2 separate regions of the Homo sapiens genome follow, and region 2 is linked to region 1. The links are contacts of gene promoters, found by promoter capture Hi-C in human tissues and cell types (Jung and others, 2019). All regions are on one chromosome and are shown on one strand. The core of a region is centred on a gene start or on the middle of the fragment in contact, and the rest is flanking DNA. Distances in the headings are between cores, read along the strand shown. Region 1 holds the start of WDR86 (WD repeat domain 86). Region 2 overlaps RHEB (Ras homolog, mTORC1 binding).

Region 1 (4,800 bases), core at 2,301-4,800:
GATTTCACATAATCATTTGACTTCAGACTTTCAGTGACTGAGTTTTTAGGTGTGGGCAGGTATTTCTGCAACTGGGTTTTGCAGGTTCTCTGCGAGGTTCATCTTTGGCTCCCTAATATTTAAGTCGACACTCCTTCTGCTCCCAGAAGAGACTCCCTCCTCCTCTTGTTCTTCGGGCCTCTCACTCTGTCTGTTGCCTGCTGTCTCCGGTATCACCAACTTCTCTCTCCAAGTTCTTTCTTAGCAATATTTAAAGCTGATCTCTGTCTTTAAAAAGTTGAGTTCTTCCACACTGTGCCCTCCTCTGGCTGCCTTCCTGCAACCAGCATCTATGTCATTAGTGGTACAGATGCTCCTTGAGTGATTAACGATGTCATGTTCTGATAAACCCATTGCAAGTTGAGAATATTCTAAGTCAAAAATGCATTTAATATGCCTAACTTGTGGAACATCATTGCTTAGCCCAGCTTTCCCTTAAATGTGCTCAGAGCACTGGCATCAGCCTTACATTTGGGCAGAATCATCTTACACAAAGCCTATTTTAAAGTAAAGTGTTGAATATCTCATGTAATTTATTGAATACTGCACCAAAAGTGAAAAACTGATTGTATTGGCACTTGAAGTACAATTTCTACTGAATGTCATCACTTTCATACCATCATAAAGTTGAACAATGCTAAGTTGGGACTATCTGTACAATTACCCTCAAATATATCTTCGATCATACACTCTCACCCCCGGGGTGAAAAACCTTCAGGGCTTCCCGTTTTCTCTCGACTGCCTTGGGCCTGGGGTAGCAAGGTCTTCTCCCGGGAGCACCGTGCTTGTGAGAGTCTGCAGGTGGCTGCAGGACTGGGAAGGCTTCCGTCCTGTTGAAAAATACTAGCACTTAGCACAGTACCTGACACACAGTAAGTACCCAAACTATGAAGATGATGACCACAGGCACCCTCACCACCAGCATTGCAGGTTGTGCCAGAAGGGAAAAAGCAATTCTGACAAAGCTCTGGCTATGACGTTCCCTGTGGGCGCCCCTCAAGGTGCCTCCCTCTGTCACCACCTACACACACACACACACACACAACTCAGGAATATCCAGCTTTCACCATGCTTCTCAGAGAGGCCCCAGAGGGTCACTCTTTCCAGCAGGGTAAATTGTGGCAGTCCCTGTGGCACGGGGAATGAGCACTCCCTGGCACAAAATGCACCCGCCCCCCAACCCTTCACTTGTTAAACACTGCCCATTTCTTGCTTCTTAAAGCTTAACCATTTCCTCCTACACCCTACCAGGTTCCCTTCCCAAGGTGCCTTCCATTTATAAAGTGATTAGGTCCAGGAGGGCCTGGGCACCACGGGACTCCAGGCCCTCTTGGAGGCTCCAGAAGAGTTAAAGGTGTGAAAGGGGAAGGGAGCCCAGGTTCTGCTGGGGACCCAGCCTGACTCCTGGGTCTCTATAGCTTTGCTATCTTAAGGTGGAGGTTGGGGGAGACCCCAGTTTCAGGGGAATTAGGGGAGACCTCAGTTCCAGGGGAATTCGGTGCTGTTTTCCAATCTACCCAGCTTCTTGTACTCCTGTTAGATCTGGGGGCAATTTCCCAGAGGAGAGTCTGTAATCTACGACCTGCAAGAGAAAAGGGAAGACAGGCTGGCTGAGGACATCTGCACCCACAGCTCTACAGTCCAGACTCAACCCCCAGAGATGGCTGGCTCATCCCCACCAGGGGGCCACTTTGTGCCAAACCGGAGAAGGAGGGGTGGGGGAGGTGGAGAAGCCAAGAACAAAAAATCTATCAACCTGGAAAGAGGAAGTAGGTAAGGTCAGCGGTGTGTGGACTGCAGGCTCCCAAGATGATGGCGCTGGCGCTTCTGAACGCTCTGCCTGCTGGGAGCTGAGCATGGGGCTGATGGCTTGTGTTGGCTGCAGAGGAGAGGAACCAGAGTGCATGGGTGCCACCTTGCTCAGGAATCCTGGGTGACCTCCTTGAAAGTTAAGCTTTTCTCCTGGTGGTTCTTTCCTCTGGCCCACGACCAGGCAAGCTCGCCCAACCTACGATCTGTCCCCAGCTCCCAAACTGCTTTCAAACCCCTCCCCTCTTAGTTTCCAAAAGAGTCGATGCCTGGTTCTCCTTGGCCCCTCTGCCCAGAAAGTTTGGGTTTCCTCTGGCACTTCTCCGGATAAACCCTCCCAGCCTCCATGGTCCTCACATTCACCTTCCCCAAGGGCTGCAGCCGCAGGGCCTGCCCAAGATCCCCACTATACCGAGTCTGTCCTCACCTGGAGGCCACACCGCAGTTTCACACCTGGATGTGCAATGGGCCCCCTGAGGTTCACCGGTTCCTAAGAGGAACTGGTGATCAGCCTGTAGGGGACAAAACAGTCTACCCAGCCTCTCAGCACAAGACAGGCTCCCCGGCCTCTCCCGCCTCGCAGGCATCCAAATGCTGAAGCCTCCACCTCCTGAAAACGTCTCTCCTTTCGGCCTCCCTCTCTCCGGCTGGATGACCCCAAATCTCGTCCTAACGCTCCTCCACTGCCCCTCTCTCCACCACCTGCTAAGGAAGGGCCACGCTCCTTAAGCTGAGGCGCCAGCTGCTTTACAAGTTTTGAGGGAAAAGAACGGATTTCTCTGGTTAGGCCACTCTGGGTATAAACGACCCAACGGCCTGGGACACCCCACGATGGGGTTTTCTTTTGGAGTCTGGATAGAGCAGAGCGTGCAGTACTGGTCGTCCCATTGCGGGCTAGCTCGCCAAAGACGCCCCTTCCTTGCCCTTCTCCCTAGGCTCCTGAGAGAGCCCTGGAGCGTTCTGGAAATCCTGCTACCTTTAGGACCTGGGGGATCCGAGTAGGGGGGTCACCTTCCCCGTCCCCAGCGAAGTCGGCGCCGGAACTGCCCTAATGGAAACCAGCCGCCGGGCGCTCCGGGAGGGCTCAGGCCGACCCCGGGGTCCATTAGAGGCGCCCCAGGCCGAGGGAGCCCGCGGCGGCTGGAAGGTGAACTTGACATCCCGGCTCCACCGACCCCGCAGCGGCTCGCACCTCATCCCCACTCCGGCCAGACCAAAGTAGAATCCTGGGTGTGCGCGTGATTTCCCAGGGAGGGCGGACTCGGGGCTTTCCCTGTCGCACCCTCCATTGGGGGACCGCCCCCAAGTCCCCGAGAGCCCCTCGGGCAGAGTCCTTAGGGCTCAGAGCATGGGAGGACCTGGCTTGCCTGGTGGAGGCGAGTAGCCGAGGGGTCGGTGGAGCTGCGCCCCAAATGAGTTCCCGGCGCGCGATTCTCCCCGACCCCGACCCTTTGTCCGCCTCCCCCTCCCTCGTCCCGGCCCTTGGCTCAGGGGACCCAGGCGGCGGCGGCGGAGGTGGCAGAGGCCAGAGCCCAGAGGCGCAGCCCGGGCAGCTAGGAGGGTCGCACGTGGAGCCGTCCCCCGGACCCGCACAGCGACGAAGGGGGGAGGCTGCAGGCGCGCGGGGTGGGGGCTGGGGCGCAGCCCGAGAAGTGGGAGGGGATCGGGTGAGGGGTGGTCTCTGAGGAGGAGCCAGGCTGGACCGTATTGTTCCGCGCTCGGCCGGGGAGGGCGCGGGGCGCTCGGCTTCCCGTGTTCCTCTCCCCGCCCCAGCCCCGTGGGCGCGAGAGGAGGCGGGGGGCTCCTTGTGCACCAGAGACGCAGCTGCCTTGTTCGCCCGGTGGGGTGTGGATCCTCCGAGCGGTGCTGGGAAGGGGGTTCTCTCTGCCCGCGCGCCCAGGACTCTACCCAGGGCGGAGGTCCCGAGTGGGCCGCCCCCCGCAGCGCCCTGGGTTCGCGGGCCCAGAGGCTGGAGGCAGCGGGGAGCTAGGGTCCTTCACCCTCCCCTCGCCGCGTGCCTCCGCAGGAGTCGGGCTCCCCGTTCCCCGCGATGGCCGCGGGCCGCAGTCGTACGGAGCCGCCGCGCGGACCCCGGGGCGCCCCTCCCTAGCGGGGCGCAGCTCCTTCTTGTTCCCCGCCCTGCCAGCGGGATGGGGGGCGGCGGGTCGGCCCTGAGGGTCTGCGCCGACCACCGCGGGGGCATCAACTGGCTGAGCCTGAGCCCCGACGGGCAGCGCCTGCTGACGGGCAGCGAGGACGGCACGGCCCGGCTCTGGAGCACCGCGGACGGCCAGTGCTGCGCGCTCCTGCAAGGTAGACCCTCCCACTCCCTCCCTGACCTCTTCGCCGCAGCTCACCGGCCCCAGACCGCGGACCCCAGCTCCTGCGCCCGCAGACCCCTTTCTAGAAGTCCAGCCCCCGCTCATCCCGGCACACTAGCGGAAGAGCGCTTGTCTGGGCCCAGCATCTGGCTGTTGAGCGCACGGCAGGGCAGGGTGAGGTCTGGGGGTGGGGTGCGGGTGCAGAGCAGGGTGCGGCCGGGATCGGGTGGGTGGGTCGAGGGGCGTCCGCTACAAAGGCGAAGATCATTTGTCAACCAGCGGCAGGAAATCTCCCTTGACAACAATGTTAACAAACAAAAAGTTGCACCTATACTCCTTCTAAGCAAACCTTCCCTTGTCTCTAGGTGCCTTGTGGCCTCTTTGTGGCCAATTGTGCTCTTCTGCTGGCATTTCCTGTTGACGACTCTCACAGCAACAGTAGACGCTTGTTAAGGGCCAGCGGTGCGGAGAAGTGTGCCGTCGTCACACTATGTTACCCCACATACAGACGTGGAAACAGGCTGGGAGTTAAGTAATTCGCCCAGGTCGCACAGCCAGTGAGGGGTAGATGGCAGTCTGAGCCCTCTCATTGCTGTAAACCCTGCCTGCATGCCTGTTGGTTTCTATTTGT
Region 2 (4,800 bases), core at 1,214-3,713, 62 kb before region 1:
GTACCTTTGTCGCCTGTAAATTGGGTATATTGATATAGGAGTAGATCTCTCCTATCTGAGGCAGCCGGGTTACTTACTTTAAAACATTAGTTAAGGGCCAGGCGCAGTGGCCCACACCTGTAATCCCAATACTTTGGGAGGCCGAAGTGGGCAGATCATTTGAGGTCAGGAGTTCGAGACCAGCCTGGCCAACATGGTGAAACCTCATCTCTACTAAAAATACAAAAATTACCCGGGTGTGGTGGCGGGTGCCTGTAATCCCAGCTGCTCGGGAGGCTGAGGCAGGAGAATCTCTTGAACCTGGGAGGCGGAGACTGTATCATGAGCTGAAATCATGCCATTGCACTTCAGCCTGAGCGACAAAGCAAGGCTGTGTCTCAAAAAAAAAACAAAAAAACAACACTGGTTAAAGGGAAAAAAAATCGGAAAGGTGATGTCAATCTCCAGTGTTTTGTTTTAAAGCATAAATATACATTCAGTCACTCATCTTGTGAAATTTTCAAATTGTCATCTTTGAATATGAGTTCACCCACTGCTGTTCAGTATGACTACATCCACGATTTGTCCATTATGACTTCTGGTTCGGTTTCTTCCGAGTGAGATGCTTGGGAAACAGTCTACACCTCAACTATTTAGATTGCTGTGATTTTCCCCACCAGTCTTTTTCAGTTGGTTTGGCACACCTTATTAAGGAGCACCGTTTTTAGTAGATCAACTCACAGTATTCAACTTCTAGTTTTCAGACAAACAAAACTCTGTCTACACATACTTCAAAAGTTTGCAACATAAATTATGACTATGATGAATTTAACTGGCATAAGTGGGTTTGGGAACAAATGGGGCTGTTTTAAATAATGCCTTTTTTTTCTAGTAGCTCGTAGTTTAATCAGCATTCTCAAATTTGAGACATGAGGGAGTATGAGAAGAGTGGTGTTTTGTTTTTTAGAAATCTGTATGCTGAATACACAAATATTTATGAATATCCAAGAAATACGTCAGTAAAACTTTCCGAATCAACCAGTTTGATTCAGAAAATCAGTGATCTCAAGAAATTTAGCCACTTAGAACAGTACACATTTATGATCTCACAGTTTTTGTGGGTCAGGAATCTGGGTGTGGCCTAGCTGTGTCCTCTGCTTCAGTCTCTCAGAGCCACAGTGTGGGTATCAGCAGGGGCTGCAGTCCCATCTGAAGGCTTGCCTGGGGGAAGATGTTTCCCAGCGTGTTCACGTGGCTCTTGACAGGGTTGAGTTTCTTGCAAGTTGTTGGACTGAGCTTCTTAGTTCCTTGCTGGCCGCTGGCCTGAGGCTGCCCTCTGCTCCTTGCCAGGTGCTTCACTTCATTGGGGCAGGTGCACAAGAGAGCCAGGGAATTTCCTGCATGACAAGCCACTGTCTTTTATAACCTAACCGCAAAAGGGACATTCCATCACCTTTGCCATATTCTGTTCATTAGACGCACGTCACTAGGTCCATGCAGGGAGATGACACACAGTGTGGCCACTAGGAGAGCAGGAGATCTGGGAGCCGGCTCCAAGCTGCCTGCCACACAGTCCTAGTTCTTTCAGCTGTTTCTCACGTGACAGGGTACTGTATTTTTGCCCAAGTGGCGACACTTTTAAAGATAGGCAAATACAGCATGCGGAGGAAACCGTGGTTCTGTAATGCAACCGCAGGTCCTTAGGACACCCATATCCCATTTGTTGACCCACAGCGAGCTTGTAGGGGGGTTAAATTTCATTTTTGTTTTTATCAAATGACAGCACACATCGTTTAAAATAGCACAGTGTGTAATTCATTCAACAAGCTAACTTATTCTGAAGCTTGTGATGCAATCATGAACAAAGCAGACAAATCCCTGCCCTTGCGGACCTATTATTTCTGGTGTGGGAGACAAACAGTAAAACGACACACATGCGAGATAGGATGTCTGTGACCATGCTGCCAAGAAAAATAAAGTACGGAAGGGGTAAGAAATGGAAAGGAAATTTGTCATTTAGGGTAAACAGAAGAGGTGTAAGAAGTGACATTTGAGGCTGGGTGTGGTGGCTCACGCCTGTAATCCCAGCACTTTGGGAGGCCGAGGCAGGCGGATCACGAGGTCAGAAGTTTGCGGCTTGAGAGTCACTGGGGCCGAGTAAAGATGGCCACCCATCAGAGGATGTTGAACCAGGCACCGTCCATCTGCTGCAGCAGAGTCCTCTGGTTGCTGTGCTGAGCAGGGGTGGCGGGGAAGGGTTGGGGCTGTGGAACTGATGCAGGCAGACTTGGGCCAGGAATTCACACCTCAGCGGCAGCAGTGGAGGGGAGTGAGAAGCCGTCAGATTCTAGGTAGGATTTGAAAGTAGAGCCAGTGATGTGCTGGCAGATGTTTGCATGGGTTTTTTGGGGGAGGGTGGAAAATGATTTGTGGCCATTTGCCAGCAGTCAGTGGTATAAATAATCCTGCTGTGGCAGATTTCAAGTGATCATTATGACATCTCAGATCCCCTTCCCGGTGAGAGCCACCTCCATCCTAGAGTCATCGGCTCATTGATCTGATTGAAAGCCAAGAGATACTGGCATCACCCAGAGAATGTATGTACCTAGGAAAGAACACAGGAGCAGGCTGAATGTACTAGGGCACTCTAGGAAAAGCTGTTCAAGTTGTAATGTAAACAGTTGGTTCTTTGCTGAATGAGTTGGGTGATTAAAATTTGCATTTATGTGGTTTCTCAGCCCAGTGGTAGGCTTTCCGTTTGAATGCCTTACCTGTTTCACTTTGAATATCCTCAGTCAGGGTTGCTGAGTGTCAGATGTATGCACATGTGAATGGATTGCTAGGAAAAAACAGGAGTTCTTTGTGTTCATTTTATGTTATGTTAAAATGGTGAGTCTGTGACATTTTACATTTTTCCAGCTGGCAACATAACATACATTTAAAAACTTCAACATTAAAATGGATGTCTAATTTATACTTTTTGTTTTATAGTTTTGAAGTGATTAAAGTTATCCATGGCAAATTGTTGGATATGGTGGGGAAAGTACAGTAAGTAGTACCATTTTATCTGCTTGTTAGAGAAACTTCTTTTAATAGTATCTTCTGAGCAATACAATCTGGCACTTACTGGTTTGTCTTTTTTTTCTTACAAATAGAATACCTATTATGTTGGTTGGGAATAAGAAAGACCTGCATATGGAAAGGTATGTAGCTTTTATAAAGTCAAATCTAAGATGATTTAGTCACTGAAGTATCATTTTAATTATTGTTCTGATGTCAAGAATATTTTTAGCTGTAGCATTTTTATCCGTTCAGAGGTGTTATGGTCGTGTGCAGCAGAAGCAAAAGTGGAATAGAAATCTCACATTCCTCTAGAAAAGAGAGAGCAAACTTTATAGGAAACTACCTTTAGGTTATCTGCCACTTTGCATAAAGCAAATTCTAAAAAGACATAGTGCTCATTTATGCAGCAAGTGGTTTTTGAGTACCAGGGTTTGGGATTACAGTGAGGAGCAAAGGAGGCAGATGTCCCCTGCCCAGGCAGCTTCATGTCAGAGAGGAAGAGACTCTACAGCCTGCATGCAAGAGAATTGAGCTTTCAGGCTCTTTCACAATTTCCCCTGGCCTTGGGTGCTTACAACCTAGCTGTAAAATAGTCAATTGTTACAGATACGGGAGTACTGGAAAATAAGATCATGTTCTCTGAGCTGGAAGGTTTGCTGGAGCATGGATAATCCCATAAAGCAATGTCTATTCTGTTCCCCAGCTCAGGCGTAATTAAAACACTCCTGTGTTACATTCTTGATGCTAATGTTAGGCCAGGGCATGGTTCTGCTTCATGAGAAAGAAATTGACCAAAATGGAGCCTGTTTCATAAATCAATTATACATGTTTTATATAATGAAGAGCAAAGTACTTTAACTAGAATTTTATTTTTTCTTTAGGGTGATCAGTTATGAAGAAGGGAAAGCTTTGGCAGAATCTTGGAATGCAGCTTTTTTGGAATCTTCTGCTAAAGAAAATCAGGTAACAGATTCTATAAACCTCATTTTGCATTGCGTTCTCATCAGTCGCAGGGATGTGTTCCTTGCAGTTGGCATTTGACCTCTGTCTTGATCACTCCTGTGTAACATCTGGCCTTCCTCCATTTCTAATACCAAGTTTTGTGTTGCTTTAGGAAGATACTACTTAGGTGTTTATAAATTCAGTCAGTATTCTACTTACAGTGGAACCTAGGATATTTGTAGGATAAACAGAAACTATTAGTAAAGGAAATACTACCTTTTGTAAACATATATTTTTGGTTTGTATTAATAGCTGGTACAGAAATAAGTCCATACAGGGGAAAAAAAAAGAATTATATCACTTTAGTACTAATTTTGTAACTACCCACCCCCTGGCTTTTTTTCTGTTAGATGAAACCGGGTCAGACGTACGTGTTAATTGTTAACATAGAAATGATGAAGAACCATCTTATAAGCATTTAGTACCAATTTCACCCCGCAGATGTGCCTTCAAAGGCATGTTCTGGGAAGGATGTAGATTCTGCCTCCGGAGGCTTCACAGTCCTGTATGAGCCCTTCTCTTCCATTGCTCTAATTTAGACCCCCGGCACCAAGCTTGTCTCCCGCCCCCAGTGCATTTTTCACCTATACATTTTTTTTGCTGCCCTTAATTTTCTAAAGATACACATCTGATGGTATCATCCTCTACTCAGAAACTGTCAGTGAACTGCCCCTTCTCTATAGAACCCTTCGCCTGGTCCTGAATGCAGTCAATAATTTGTTCTTTTCTAGTTTCTTCTCTCACCACGTTCTTGTA

The links. Contacts are between HindIII fragments. The study calls those that stand out against the background at their distance.
Region 2: a contact is called between a fragment that was not itself captured here and the fragment with the promoter of WDR86 in region 1, in 1 of the 25 tissues and cell types used here (IMR-90 fibroblasts).

The regions. Positions count from the first base shown.
Region 1 is chr7:151,408,788-151,413,587 of GRCh38, reverse strand. WDR86 (WD repeat domain 86) reads left to right here and starts at 3,550. Exons shown (of 6, transcript NM_198285.3): 1 at 3,550-4,161. The coding sequence starts at 3,999. It overlaps WDR86-AS1 (WDR86 antisense RNA 1), which reads right to left and starts at 4,427. Exons shown (of 6, transcript NR_109857.1): 1 at 4,206-4,427; 2 at 2,276-2,360; 3 at 1,796-1,918; 4 at 1,518-1,621; 5 at 736-869; 6 at 234-316. RefSeq lists an enhancer at 2,352-2,984. The HindIII fragment of the contact is 9,897 bases long and covers 1,628-4,800 here.
Region 2 is chr7:151,469,776-151,474,575 of GRCh38, reverse strand. RHEB (Ras homolog, mTORC1 binding) reads left to right here. Exons shown (of 8, transcript NM_005614.4): 5 at 2,971-3,027; 6 at 3,135-3,182; 7 at 3,924-4,005. Among named protein-coding and RNA genes, the nearest start is that of CRYGN, 32 kb to the right of the region's middle. RefSeq lists enhancers at 1,251-1,510, 4,700-4,779 and a silencer at 2,731-2,780. The HindIII fragment of the contact is 3,622 bases long and covers 653-4,274 here.